Linked DNA regions of Homo sapiens: regions 2 and 3 are each linked to region 1. Evidence: promoter capture Hi-C in human tissues and cell types (Jung and others, 2019). All regions are on one chromosome and are shown on one strand. Each heading gives the region's core, a stretch centred on a gene start or on the middle of the fragment in contact. The rest is flanking DNA. Distances are from core to core; before and after follow the strand shown. Region 1 holds the start of FSCN2 (fascin actin-bundling protein 2, retinal). Region 2 has its middle 5.8 kb from the start of RENO1. Region 3 overlaps HGS (hepatocyte growth factor-regulated tyrosine kinase substrate).

The links. Contacts are between HindIII fragments. The study calls those that stand out against the background at their distance.
Region 2: a contact is called between a fragment that was not itself captured here and the fragment with the promoter of FSCN2 in region 1, in 4 of the 25 tissues and cell types used here (dorsolateral prefrontal cortex, lymphoblastoid cells, mesenchymal stem cells and 1 more).
Region 3: a fragment that was not itself captured here is called in contact with the fragment with the promoter of FSCN2 in region 1 in 1 of the 25 tissues and cell types used here (lymphoblastoid cells).

The regions. Positions count from the first base shown.
Region 1 is chr17:81,525,923-81,530,509 of GRCh38, forward strand. It overlaps FSCN2 (fascin actin-bundling protein 2, retinal), which reads left to right and starts at 2,455. Exons shown (of 5, transcript NM_012418.4): 1 at 2,455-3,435. The coding sequence starts at 2,610. RefSeq lists enhancers at 2,377-2,903, 2,904-3,429. The HindIII fragment of the contact is 15,570 bases long and covers 1-4,587 here.
Region 2 is chr17:81,349,476-81,354,062 of GRCh38, forward strand. No RefSeq gene overlaps it. Among named protein-coding and RNA genes, the nearest start is that of RENO1, 5.8 kb to the left of the region's middle. The HindIII fragment of the contact is 3,176 bases long and covers 748-3,923 here.
Region 3 is chr17:81,686,377-81,690,963 of GRCh38, forward strand. HGS (hepatocyte growth factor-regulated tyrosine kinase substrate) reads left to right here. Exons shown (of 22, transcript NM_004712.5): 3 at 1-11; 4 at 627-719; 5 at 2,328-2,451; 6 at 3,806-3,858; 7 at 4,298-4,366. Among named protein-coding and RNA genes, the nearest start is that of HGS, 4.7 kb to the left of the region's middle. The HindIII fragment of the contact is 5,827 bases long and covers 1-4,587 here.

The DNA of each region.
Region 1 (4,587 bases), core at 1,205-3,704:
AGCCTGGCCCAGGCGCCCACCCTTCAGTCACCCTCCCCTGTTTAGCTCACACAGCTGGGTCAGTGCCAGGCAGCCCCACCCAACGTGGAGCTGTGGGGCCCTAGAACTGAGGAGCCGCCATCATTTCTGGCTCTGCCACCAAGAGGCTGCCCAGAGCCAGGCCCACTTAGTGCCGGGCGGCCAGGCTTCCCCCTGCTGAGCACCCGATGCCTAAGCGCCCTGCCAGCCCAGACAGCGCTAATGAGGCCGTCGTGCCAATCAGAGGGGCAGGCCGCCTGGGCTCCTCCTCAGCCTGGCTGGGCGTTGGGGTGTGGAGGTGAAGCCAGTGTCTGTGCCTGGGGTGGGGGGGACCATGGGCACAGCTGCCCCTCCGGCTTCCCCCACCGCTCACGGACCAACCGAGCTGTACCCTCAAAATCCAACGGGAGGCCGGGCGCAGTGGCCACGCCTATCATCCCAGCACTTTCAGAGGCCGCGGCGGGCAGATCACTTGAGGTCAGGAGTTCGAGACCAGCCTGGGCAACATGGTGAAACCCCATCTCTACTAAAAATACAAACATTAGCCGGGCACGGTAGCAAGTGCCTGTAATCCCAGCTACTTGGGAGGCTGAGGCAGGAGGACTGCTTGAGCTCGAAGGTTCCAGTGAGCCAAGATTGCGCCACTGGACTCCAGTTTGGGTGAGGAGCGAGACCCTATTTCAAGAAAAAAGTTTTTTAAAAAGAAGAGCCAATGGGAAAGTGAGGTGCAGGCAGCACCCTAGCTTGTATCCCTAAACCAGAGACAGTTCCCTGGCATCGGTGCTAGGCCTGTGTCCTCAGTCCCCTGGAAACTGTGGGAGAGTGTGTGTGGGCATCGTCTCTGGGAAGGGGGTGAAACCCCAGACTGCGTCTCCCCAGGATGGTGCCTGGCACGTGACCTGGTTTCGCACACAGTTGGTGCCTCATAAATGCGTGTGAATCATAGAGGCGGATGAGGCCAGCACACAGGGAGAGGCGAGAGCAGGCCCTGGCGTCGTGGCGTACGCTGTGCCCTGGGGGGTATTTGCATGTGGGAGTCTCTCTGCCCCCACCCTGGCCCCTGAGCGTGGGGACAGTGGGGACAGGTCTCCTCTTTTTCCTCCCCTGTGTCTGCAGGTGCCTGGCACGGTTGCTGTCCAGGGCTTAGAGGACAGAGGAAGAGCCCCTGAGTCTGTGCACACTCTGCCACCATGGCCCTGCCCACCTCTGGAGCCCACAGGTGCCCAGCCCAGGCCCCTTGCTTTTGGCTAGACTCCTGCCCTACGGGGACCCCCATGATGGCCACTCAGGAGATGGGCCCAGGAGGACAGGGGAGTGACTCCAGGCCATGACCGGAAGGGGCCTGTGGCCCCTGTTCCCAGTCCCCAGGGAGACGGGAGGGTCACACGCTGTTATGAGGAAGAGGACACCGGGCTGGCCCTGGCCCAGGGTGGCCAGCTCTGGTTTCACTACTTGGCCCCAAGCCCCTGAGGCAGGTGCAGGAGCCAGGCACGGTGAGCAGGGCCCAGTGCCCCTCAGGCTCTGGGGAAGGGGTACAGCCAGGTGGCCCAGAGCAAGGAGGTGCTGTAGACAGGTGTGACCACTTCCAGTCTCTCCCGGCCTGCTGGCCTTCATCCTCTCCCAGATTCCAAGGGCCACCGCTGGGAGCATGGGGTGGACATCGTCCCACCAGCCTCCTGGATCCACATCCGTAAAGACTCCAAAGTGAAGTGAGGCTGGCTTCACTCCAGCTCACAGCAGAGGAGGGGGCAGCCTCAGGGCCCAGCAACTTGCTCAGAGCGCACAGGAGTGCGCTGGGGCCGGGCCAGCCTGGCCCAGGGCCTCTGACTCTGCCCCCTGCCTGCAGGGCTGCACGGCCACTGTGTTCCACCCTCCAGCGTGGGTGGCAGTCCAGTGCGTCATTCTGGGGCCTGAGCAGTGTGGCCAGAGGCCGGTCTGGGGTGGAGGCGACCTGGGCTGCAGGTTGTGGCTGGGGTCCTTGCTATGCTTCTGGCAGCAGGAATCAGAGAAGCAGTAACTGGATCCAGCTGAGGGCCTGGCGGCCACCGAGGGTACGGGCGGCGATCAGGTTGCGGCCGAGCCGTGAGCGTTCCACTGGACGGCTTCTACATCCGGAAGGGCTGGGCCGGGCCGGGCCGGGAGCCCACACGGGGTTGGAGGAGGGGGGCAGGAACGAGAGAGGCCAAAAGGTGCAGGGCCGTGAAGAGGGGCGCTGGGCCCACGCTATGAGGAAAAGGGGATCAACCCTGCCCTCCAGCCCCGTAGGCCCTCAGGCCCTCGGGCTCTGGGCTCTGTGCAATCCGGGAGTGGCTGAAATCCAAGCTGAGGGTAATGAAAGGTGCTGCTCCTAAGCCGCACGTCTCTGATCCGCCCTCCCCGCCCGCCCTCTGCTGCCCGCGGGCCCTCTAAGAGCTGCCCAGGCTGCTGCCGCGGGTCAGAGGCGGGTCAGAGCAGGCAGGGGGTTCGTGACGCCGGCTGGGTCTGGGGGCTGTGGGCCAGCCGAGCCGACCCGGGCTTCTGGGGGACCGCGGGGGCCGTGAGCACTCAGAGGGCGCATCCCAGGCCCCTCCGGGGACCCGGCCAGCCTGAAGATGCCGACGAACGGCCTGCACCAGGTGCTGAAGATCCAGTTTGGCCTCGTCAACGACACTGACCGCTACCTGACAGCTGAGAGCTTCGGCTTCAAGGTCAATGCCTCGGCACCCAGCCTCAAGAGGAAGCAGACCTGGGTGCTGGAACCCGACCCAGGACAAGGCACGGCTGTGCTGCTCCGCAGCAGCCACCTGGGCCGCTACCTGTCGGCAGAAGAGGACGGGCGCGTGGCCTGTGAGGCAGAGCAGCCGGGCCGTGACTGCCGCTTCCTGGTCCTGCCGCAGCCAGATGGGCGCTGGGTGCTGCGGTCCGAGCCGCACGGCCGCTTCTTCGGAGGCACCGAGGACCAGCTGTCCTGCTTCGCCACAGCCGTTTCCCCGGCCGAGCTGTGGACCGTGCACCTGGCCATCCACCCGCAGGCCCACCTGCTGAGCGTGAGCCGGCGGCGCTACGTGCACCTGTGCCCGCGGGAGGACGAGATGGCCGCAGACGGAGACAAGCCCTGGGGCGTGGACGCCCTCCTCACCCTCATCTTCCGGAGCCGACGGTACTGCCTCAAGTCCTGTGACAGCCGCTACCTGCGCAGCGACGGCCGTCTGGTCTGGGAGCCTGAGCCCCGTGCCTGCTACACGCTGGAGTTCAAGGCGGGCAAGCTGGCCTTCAAGGACTGCGACGGCCACTACCTGGCACCCGTGGGGCCCGCAGGCACCCTCAAGGCCGGCCGAAACACGCGACCTGGCAAGGATGAGCTCTTTGATCTGGAGGAGAGTCACCCACAGGTGGTGCTGGTGGCTGCCAACCACCGCTACGTCTCTGTGCGGCAAGGTAGGGAGGGCACAGGTGGCGACCTCCTGAGGGGTGCTGGGACCCCCCTGCTTCAGGGAGGAGGCCGTGGGGGTCTCACGGGGAGTGGTATCGTGTCTGTGCGTTCACATGTCTGTTCTGGGCTGGGGGTCCATGTGGGACATGTGTGGCCACTCAGGGTGTAGGTGGGTGGGCCTCGGGCCATGCCCAGGCGACCCCCACTGAGGGGTGGTGGCTTCAGGGTCAGAGGCAAGGGTTCCTGGCCTTTCTCAGCATAGCTGGAGAATGTCTCAGCCAAGCCCTGGGCAGCTGCGGAGTCTGAGACTGGAGAGGTGTGGGCCAGGCGATGGGCAGTGCCCAGCAGGGGCAGGAGGCCCACAGCCTGGCCTGGTGCCATGAGGGGCATGTGGGCAGGAGGCTGTGGGGGGTCCATATCTCCCCTTCTTTTTCTCCACCCCATTTTCTGGACTTCATTTATTTATTTATTTTTTGAGACAGAGTCTCGCTCTGTCACCCAGGCTGGAGCGCAGTGGCGTGATCTCGGCTCACTGCAAGCGCCGCCTCACGGGTTCACGCCATTCTCCTGCCTCAGCCTCCCGAGTAGCTGGGACTACAGGCGCCCGCCACCACGCCCGGCTAATTTTTTGTATTTTTTAGAAGAGACGGGGTTTCACTGTGTTAGCCAGGATGGTCTTGATCTCCTGACCTTGTGATCTGTCCACCTCGGCCTCCCAAAGTGCTGGGATTACAGGCGTGAGCCACCGTGCCCGGCTGCATTTTCTGGACTTTAAAGGAAATTGGGGAGGAGCCCAGGGTAGGGCAGGGAGCTGGGGATCGGGCGGGGATAGCACCACCACGTGCCTGACCAGTGGAGCCTCGTGTCCTCAGGAGTGGGGGGGCTTAAGGTCAGCTCCAGTGATGGAGGACACGGTGGGCAGGCAGCTTTACCCGGGGCCTGGGCTCCTGGTGGGGAGGCACCTCCCTGCCCCAGTGGGGCGTGGCCTGGCTCTCCCCAGTTCCCAGGTCACCAGTTGCCTGTCTGTGTGACTCCCTCCACCGCCTATGGGGTGAACCCCAGCAGTTCCTCCTTCCCCACAAGCTGAGCTCTGAGGGAAAAGCCCTGGCCCGGGCAGTCACTACCCACCTGGGCTCCTGGCTCCATGCACCCCAGAG
Region 2 (4,587 bases), core at 1,086-3,585, 180 kb before region 1:
AACGCAGATAACTGACGGGGGCTCCAAGAAGCGAGAAACCTGGGCGGACCTCAGCCCAGCCCACATCCCAGAACCCGGAGGCCAGGGGCTTGGCCAGGTGGAGGTCGGCCCTAGCCCTGTGAGCGTGAGACTCGGCCACCAAGCTTTAAGGTCGTCGTTATGCAGCACTGTTGTGGCAAAAGCCGACTGATACACCTGCCCTGGCACTTGGGGATACAGGGAAACGGATGTGGTGAATTGAAGATGATGCCACACGTCCCCTGGTGTGCCGAGGTAAAGGCTTGGGAACGCTGGGAAGAGGGAGGAAAGAGCCAGAAGGTTAGCGCGAGGCACTCATTCCCTGTAGCTTGACTACTGTTTCCAGAAATTGAGGGCCGGTTTGCAATTAGAGTTACCCCAGAAAGTTGGGACTCCCAGGTTGAAAAAGCCACTGTTTATGCCTCAAACAGTAGGAGAAAAGATGGTGGCTGTTCAAGGCCTGTCACTCAGGCAGCTCAGTCCAACAAAAGTGTGCAGGCCTACGGCAAAGATCAGATGAAGGCTCAGGTTGCGGGGGGAGGGGAGCAGATGGCTTAATGAATCATCTGTCAGTTGGACCCGGAAGACAGTCATCGGGACCCACGGAAAGGCTCTGCCCATCCTAGAGAGGCAGGCTTTGGGCTGGGTCTTCTCCCTGGAGATGATGGTGACTTTTTCTAACACGATGTGTGGAGGAAGGGTGGGTCTCACAGATGTCTGGAGGCCAAGGGCTGGCTGGCTGCCGTCCGGCTGTCCAACAGAAGCCGTTACCCCTTCTCATGGGGCCCCTGGCTGGTCTGCATTCCCAGGCTCCCTCGCAGTAGGTGTGGCTGGGTAACCGTGGTGTCCAACAGAATCTGGCAGAAGCAGTGTGCACCAGTTTCAGGAGCAGGTCACCCTTCCAGGAGGCTTTTAGGGTTCCCCCTTCTGATGGCTGAAATGGGCACATCAGAGAGACTGTGGAAGACAAATGTGCAAGATGACAGGGCAGCCTTCAGCCTGGGGCCCAACCAGGCCCCACCCCGCAGGAGCACTTGCTTGGGCAGGTCAGGGATAAATAAGCCGCGGGCTGGCATGGGCAGCTACGTTTGGGGTCTATTTGCTACAGTTGTGTAACTTGCACTGAGCAAGAGTTTCAGAACACACAGTGTTCAAAAACACCAGTAATAGCTTCAGAGAGAAAAGAGATTTTGTTCTTTAAAAAAAGAATCTGGGGAAGTGAACTCAGATTTTTGCTTCCTTCCTCATAATTTTAGGTAGTATTCAAAAATTTACAAGAAGATTCAGAAATAATAACCAAGAAAACTGCATTCATGTGAACAAATAAAAATAAGCTTTGGGGCTGGGCACAGTGGCTCGCGCCTGTAATCCCAGCATTTTGGGAGGCCAAGGCGGGTGGATTGCTTGAGGTCAGGCATTTGAGACCAGCTTGACCAACATGGTGAAACCCTGTCCCTACTAAAAATACAAAAATGAGCTGGGCGTGGTGGCGGGTGCCTGTAATCCCAGCTACTCAGGAGGCTGAGGCAGGAGAATCACTTGAATCCGGGAGGCAGAAGTTGCAGTGAGCCAGGACTGCGTCATTGCACTCCAACCTGGACAACAAAGTAAGACTCTGTCTCAAAAATTATAAAAAATAAATAGAGGCCGGGCACGGTGGCTCACACTTGTAATCCTGTATCTGGAATTGGTGGGTTCTTGGTCTCACTGACTTCAAGAATGAAGCCGTGGACCGTCACGGTGAGTGTTACAGTTCTTAAAGGCGGCGTGTCTGGAGTTTGTTCCTTCTGATATTCAGATGCGTTCGGAGTTTCTTCCTTCTGGTGGGTTCGTGGTCTCGCTGGCTCAGGAGTGAAGCTGCGGACCTTCGCGGTGAGTGTTACGGCTCTTAAGGCAGCGCGTCTGGAGTTGTCCTTCCTCCCGGTGGGCTCGTGGTCTCGCTGGCTTCAAGAGTGAAGCTGCAGACCTTCGGGGTGAGTGTTACAGCTCATAAAGGCAGTGTGGACCCAAAGCGTGAGCAGTAGCAAGATTTATTGCAAAAAGCGAAAGAACAAAGCTTCCACAGCGTGTAAGCAGACCAGAACAGGTTGGCACTGCTGGCTCGGGCAGCCTGCTTTTATTCTCTTATCTGGCCCCACCCACATCCTGCTGATTGGTAGAGCCCAGTGGTCTGTTTTGACAGGGCACTGATTGGTGTGTTTACAATCCCTGAGCTAGACACAAAGGTTCTCCACGTCCCCACCCGATTAGCTAGATACAGAGTGTCTACACAAAGGTTCTCCAAGGCCCCACCAGAGTAGCTAGATACAGAGTGTCGATTGGTGCATTCACAAACCCTGAGCTAGACACAGGGTGCTGATTGGTGTGTTTACAAAACTTGGACTAGATACAGAGTGCCGATTGGTGTATTTACAATCCCTTAGCTAGACATAAAGTTCTTCAAGTTCCCACTAGACTCAGGAGCCTAGCTGGCTTCACCCAGTGGATCTCGCACTGGGGCTGCAGGTGGAGCTGCCTGCCAATCCCGCGCCGTGCGCCCACGCTCCTCAGCCCCTGGGTGGTCGATGGGACTGGGCGCCGTGGAGCAGGGGGTGGCGCTCGTCGGGGAGGCTCGGGCTGCACAGGAGCCCACGGGTGGGGGGCGCGGGGCGGGGACGGGAGGCTCAGGCATGGCAGGCTGTAGGTCCCAGCTCTGCCCCACGGGAAGGCAGCTAAGGCCTGGCGAGAAATCCAGCGCAGCGCCGGTGCGCCGGCACTGTTGGGGGACCCAGCACACCCTCCGCAGCCGCTGGCCCGGGTGCTAAGCCCCTCATTGCCCGGGGCTGGCAGGGCCGGCCGGCTGCTCCGAGTGCGGAGCCCGCCAAGCCCACGCGGAACTCCAGCTGGCCCGCAAGCGACGCACGCAGCCCCAGTTCCCTCTCGCGCCTCTCCCTCCACACCTCCCCGCAAGCTGAGGGAGCCGGCTCCGGCCTTGGCCAGCCCAGAAAGGGGCTCCCACAGTGCAGCGGCGGGCTGAAGGGCTCCTCAAGTGCCGCCAGTGGGAGCCCAGGCAGAGGAGGCGCCGACAGCGAGCGAGGGCTGTGAGGACTGCCACACGCTGTCACCTCTCAATCGCAGCACTTTGGGAGGCCGAGGCGGGTGGATCACGAGGTCAGGAGATCGAGGCCATCCTGGCTAACACGGTAAAACCCTATCTCTACTAAAAATACAAAAAATTAGCCGGGCGTGGTGGCGGGCGCCTGTAGTCCCAGCTACTTGGGAGGCCGAGGCAGGAGAATGGCGTGAACCCAGGAGGCGGAGCTTGCAGTGAGCCGAGATCGCGTCACTGTACTCCAGCCTGGGTGACAGAGCAAGACTCCGTCTCAAAAATAAATAAATAAATAAATAAAAAATTGGGCTCGTTTGGTTTTGTGGAGTGTTTTGAGACAGGGAGTACAGCAGCAGGGTCACTGTAGTACAGCACAGGAGTCACTGCAGCCTCCACCTCCCAGGGTCACGCAATCCTCCCACCTCAGCCTCCCAAGTAGCTGGGACCAGAGGGTTTGAGCCACTACACCCAGCTAATTTTTCATGTTTGCTTTGTAGAGATGAGGTCTTGCTATGTTTTCCAGGCTGGTCTGAAACTCCTGGCCTCAAGTGATCCTCCCTCCTTGACCTCCCAAAGTGCTGGGATTACAGACATGAGCCACCTCACCCCGCCCCACTTTCTTTTTTTTTCTAATCAGCCCCAACTCATTATTTATTTTCACTGGTCTCTAACCAAAATTTGACATTTCCTTCAGTGATGAATGTATGACATAACTAAAATAACTAAAATGACTCAAATCATGCTGCGATTGTTGCAGATATCTTTTTTTGGAAACGGAGTCTTGCCCTGTCGCCTAGGCTGGAGTGCAGTGGCGCCATCTCGGCTCACTGCAACCTCTGCCTCCCGGGTTTAAGCGATTCTCCTGTCTCAGCCTCCCAAGGAGCTGGGACTATAGGCGCACGCCACCACGTCTGGCTTATTTTTGTATTTTTAGTAGAGACGGGATTTCACCATGTTGGCCAGGATGGTCTTGATCTCCTGACCTCATGGTCGGCCCACCTCGGCCTCCCAGAGTGCTGGGGTTACAGACGTGAGCCACCACGCCCAGCCAGCCAGGCTGGTCTTAAACTCCTGATCTCAAGTAATCCACCTGCCTCGGCCTCCAAAGTGCTGGAATTATAGGCGTCAGCCACTGCAGCTGGCCACAGATATCTCAAAATACTGTTTCTGTTCATCACAAACACATGTATTGCATGTACCAGAACTTTTGTGATGCATTAATATGTATAATTAATATGCATTAATGTGTACAAGTATAAAAAATATATGCAGGGGCAGGGTGTGGTAGCTCATGCTGTAATCCCAGTGCTTTGGGAGGCTGCGGAAATAAGATTGCTTGAGTCCAGGAATTCAAGACCAGCGTGGGCAACATGGGGAGCCCCTGTGTCTCTACAAAAAATTTAAAAATTAGCTAGGCATGGTGGTGCGTGCCTGTAGTCCCAGATACTTAGGCGGCTGAGGCAGGAGGATTGCTTGAGGCC
Region 3 (4,587 bases), core at 1,367-3,866, 160 kb after region 1:
ATGCCCTGGAGGTAAGCAGACCCCCGTGCCTCAGTGGCCCCCAGGGTCCCTACCCCCTACTAGTCACGACAGCATGAGAAGAGTTTGTCCTGTGGCCTTGCCCACCTCCCTGGGCATACATCAAGCAGGAGAGTTTCCACTCAGCCTTGAGTGCCTGTGTGAACAGTGCCACCTAGGAGAGGGTCACGCTGAGGGAGAGACAGGAGATAGGGGAGGGAGTGGGCACCACTTCTTCAGCCGGTCCTGCGTGAGTAAACACCAGAAGGCGGATGTCATTGCTGTGCTTGGCAGTGAGACTTGGCGTCACGGAGCGGTGCTGTGCAGGCTGCTGAGTCTCAGATGTGGGTTCCCCACTGGCCTGACGGGCCTGTTGAAGGGCTGCTGTCCCACCGGGTTCCCCACCGGCCACTGACGGGCCTGTCGAAGGGCTCTGCTGTCCCACCGGGTTCCCCTCCGGCCACTGACGGGCCTGTCGAAGGGCTCTGCTGTCCCACCGGGTTCCCCACCGGCCACTGACGGGCCTGTCGAAGGGCTCTGCTGTCCCACAGGGAGGTGGGTCTGTCCGGGAGGAGGAGGGGCCCTGCCCTGACCACTGGCCCAACCCTTCCCTTCCTGGGCATCTGCAGGTCATGGAATCTGTGGTAAAGAACTGTGGCCAGACAGTTCATGATGAGGTGGCCAACAAGCAGACCATGGAGGAGCTGAAGGACCTGCTGAAGGTGGGTGAGACGGGGGCATGCGGGTGGCCACCCAGGCTGGCACCTTTGCTTCTCCGGGTGTTTACTGGGCACTGATGACAGAACAGCACCAGGTGTGGCGGAAAATGTGCAGGTGCAGATCGGTGGTCCCTGCACTGCGCAAGCTCGCACTCATGAGTCGGAGAGACAGGGCCGTGAGCCCCAATCCAGGGAGGTCAGGGTTTAGCAGGAGCCGGCCTGGGGTGCTGTGTCTGGAGGACCAAGGTGACAGCGACCCTGGGGCCTGGGGGAAGCTTCCGGGAGGCAGGGCTTGGGCACCTGCTGTCTTAGGGAAGGTGAGTAGATGCCACTGGGTGGGCAGGGCAGGTGGTGGCTATCGTGTGTGAGAGTGGCTGTGGTCCGGAGGGCAGGCTGGCCACATCCCACAGGCAGGGGCCTGGGAGGGCTCTGAGCGGGGGCTTGTAAGATCGGATGTGTCTGGCGGGGATAAGAGCTGTTTTGGAGAGCGAGGGCTTCATGCTTTCCTGGGCAGAGGAGGAAAAGCCCTCCAGATCCCCAGGAGATTGTGCCGGGGACATCTGCAGGGATTGTGCTGGGGACACCTGCAGGGACTGTGATGTGGACTGTGATGCAGTGGGGATGCTGTTGCAGGTGTCAAGGAGAAAGAGTGTCCCATGTAGTCAGGCTGCTCCCCTTCTGTCCCAACCTGTGGGCCAGACCTGGGTCTCATAGGAGACTCCCTGGACTCACACAGCTGAGAACCTGCCCGGGGATCCCGGTGGACAGCCAGGCCTCTCAAAGGCCCTCACTGGCCACTTTGGCTGGCTTCCTGTCCCGTCCTGTCCTGGCTGAGAGGCGGAAGGTGCCGGAGTCTGGCCCTGCCCGACCCTGGTGCTCCTGAGCTCCTTCAGTCAGGCTGCAGATCCTGAGCCGGTTCGCTCCTCTGGGGTGAGGCAGGGCTGTGAAGGGAAGGCGCCGCTGAGGATGCAGAGGGGTTCTGGAAAGGAGCTTAGGCTGAGGTGCAAGTGCCCCGGAGCCTGCTTGCAGCAGCCTCTGATCGCACGCCGTCCTGCACGTCACACCGGGACGGCGTCCCCGAGAGGGCCGTAGACGCGAGGCCAGGCTGCGCTCTAACCGGGGGAGAGGATGGCTGCAGGGGGTCTGGAGCCCGCTCTGAATTTGGAGGCATTTCTGGAGCGGCTGCCCCCCGCGTCTCCCCGGCTGTGACTGGAAGGAGGGGCGTGGCCAGAGCCCCGCAGTACCCCTGTGTTCTCAGCCCCAACACCACGCTGCCACCGTCAGGCCTGCCGGGTCCTGCCTGTTGGAGGCTGACGGGAACCGGGGATCCTGGGGTGGGCAGGTCCCGTGGGGAAAGGGAGAGACAGATGGTCAGGGGCACAGAGACGCGGCGTTGTTTGGCTCCAGCAAGTAGAGGCAGGCGTGAGGTTTGAACTCAGGGTCTGGGAACAGGTTGGTGCATGGCCCCCACGCCCCACTCGGGGGGCCCTCCCTGGCCTCTGTGTCAGCCCCATCTGCTCAGAGGCTGAGGTCTGCCAGCTGCTTCCTCACACCGAGGCCTCTGGCGCCTGGAGTGTCCTGCGACCCTCACCCCCTTCTCCCTGCCTGCAGAGACAAGTGGAGGTAAACGTCCGTAACAAGATCCTGTACCTGATCCAGGCCTGGGCGCATGCCTTCCGGAACGAGCCCAAGTACAAGGTGGTCCAGGACACCTACCAGATCATGAAGGTGGAGGGTGAGTCAGGACTGAGGTTGGGACCAGGTTGAGGCTTGGAACTGCTGGGCAGTCAGGCTCAACGGGCACAGTGGCGAGGGGCCTGGGAAGATGGGTTGTTCCCTGTGTTGGGAGGGAGGAGGGCGGTGGCCTGGAGCCAGGGAAGACCGTGCATGTGAGGGCGGGTTCAGACCGGCTCCTGCCTTTCTGGACCCACGGCCCACGGGCAGGGGCAGGCAGTGATGGCAGACAACACACAGGTGAAAAGGCAGCAGACAGCCTGTTTCAGAGTGGCAGGACTCCTGGGGGCCGGGTTGGGCTGTGCAGTCAGGGAAGGCCTCTGAAGGAGCTGTCCCAAGTGTCGAGACTGGAACAGAAGCCAGAGCCGGCGTGAGCAGGCAGGCAGCACCCGTGGGCAGACACTCAGGGTTGAGGCCCCAGGGCAGAAAGGTGGCCAGCGTGCCAGAGGAGAGTGCAGCCGGGCCTGTGCGCCGAGGGCCTCCAGGCTGTTGGGCTGGAGTTCAGGGTTGCTGTCAGCGCAGCAGGAGGCCTCTGGTGGGTTTTCGTCTAGGTCGTGGCTGCCAAGGTGTGTTTCTTAAGGGTCCCTCTCGGCCATTGTGGCCGTGGAGAACTAGGGGATTGTGTAGAGAGAGGTGGGGGCTTCAGGATGCATTTGGGAGTCTTGGCTGGTGCTCAGGGCCCACTCAGTGAGAGAGAGGTGGGCATGGCTGCTCACATCTGTGCGGGTTCTCTGTGGCCCTGAGTCTGCTGAAGACGAGGCTGAGAGCGTGGGGAATGGGGCAGGCTCCAGGGGTGGTGCGTCCCCGCTGCAGGAGTTGGACGCTTGCCCTGTGGCTGCAGGGTGGGCAGGACCAGTGTGGAGAACACGGGAAGAACGCAGGGGGCGCTGCACGAGCTGCCTTGGACCCTCAACTTTGGGGTGGTGGATGCTGGTGGTCTGTGCTCCTGTCTCCTTCCTGGGGTGGGAGCTCTCCTGGATTTTTTCTGGGGTCGTGTGTCAAGAATAGCTCAAGGTCTTGTCCTCAGGATCAGTGGGAGCCCTGGCCAGAGAGCAGAGGGTGAGGGAGCCACTCAGCAGGCGGGGCCACGCAGGGGCCTCATGCCCTGATGGAGTGGGAGCAGTGTCTCAGGAAGAGGGCAGCAGGGCCTGGCTCTTGTCTCCCGCCACAGTGAGGACAGAGGCCCCATGGGGACACCCAATCTTGGGGGCAGGAGGCTGTCTCGGTGCCCCCAGACACCTTCACTTGGGTGCACGGTCACTGCTGCGTTGCAGCTGCCGAGAGTGAGGAAGGGGCTCCCGGAAGTCTTGCAGGCCAGGTGGGAGCAGGCAGTGACTATGGCTTCATCTCTCCAGGGCACGTCTTTCCAGAATTCAAAGAGAGCGATGCCATGTTTGCTGCCGAGAGAGTGAGTGTGGGCGGCCGCCAGGGGTTCTGGAGTCGGGCTGCTCAGGAAGCGTGAAGGGGAGTGCTGGGAGCCCGGCTTGTTTGAGGGTTGGTGGCTGAGCTCTCGTCTGTCTGGGACCTGAGGATGCCTGTGTGTCCTGGGCGGAGGCGTAGCAGCTGTCTCTGCAGGGCGAGGTGGAGACGTGGCTTGAGGGCCTTTAGAGTGGCTAGGGGGCTCGGGAAAGGAAAACAAGCACCTTTGATGAGGAAGGAAGTCCCTTCCTCAGGCCTCGGCAGCTTCACCCCAGGCCACGCCGCTGGGAAGGGCCGCCCGGGGCATTGCTCTCGCTCGTGCTGGGGTCCTCTCTGGGTCCGTTGCCTTCTGTGGGGCAGGGGAGGCTCTGTGCCTCTGGGGCTGGTGGGGCGGGAAGCGTGTGGTCCTGACTGCTGCCCCTCCTCAGGCCCCAGACTGGGTGGACGCTGAGGAATGCCACCGCTGCAGGGTGCAGTTCGGGGTGATGACCCGTAAGGTGAGTTCCCACCTGGGGGGCTCTACAGCCCCGGCCAGACACCAGGTCCCCTGCCGTGCACAAGGCCACCGTCCCTGCTGGGCCTTTCCTTCCTGGTGGGTGGTTCAGGAGGTGAGTGCAGCTCGCAGCGGGTGGCAGTGTGGCGTCAGGAGGGGGACAGTGAGGGCCCACGTAAGGGCCTGATGCCACTGCCTGGGCCGGGCCCAGCCTCACTCTGGAAT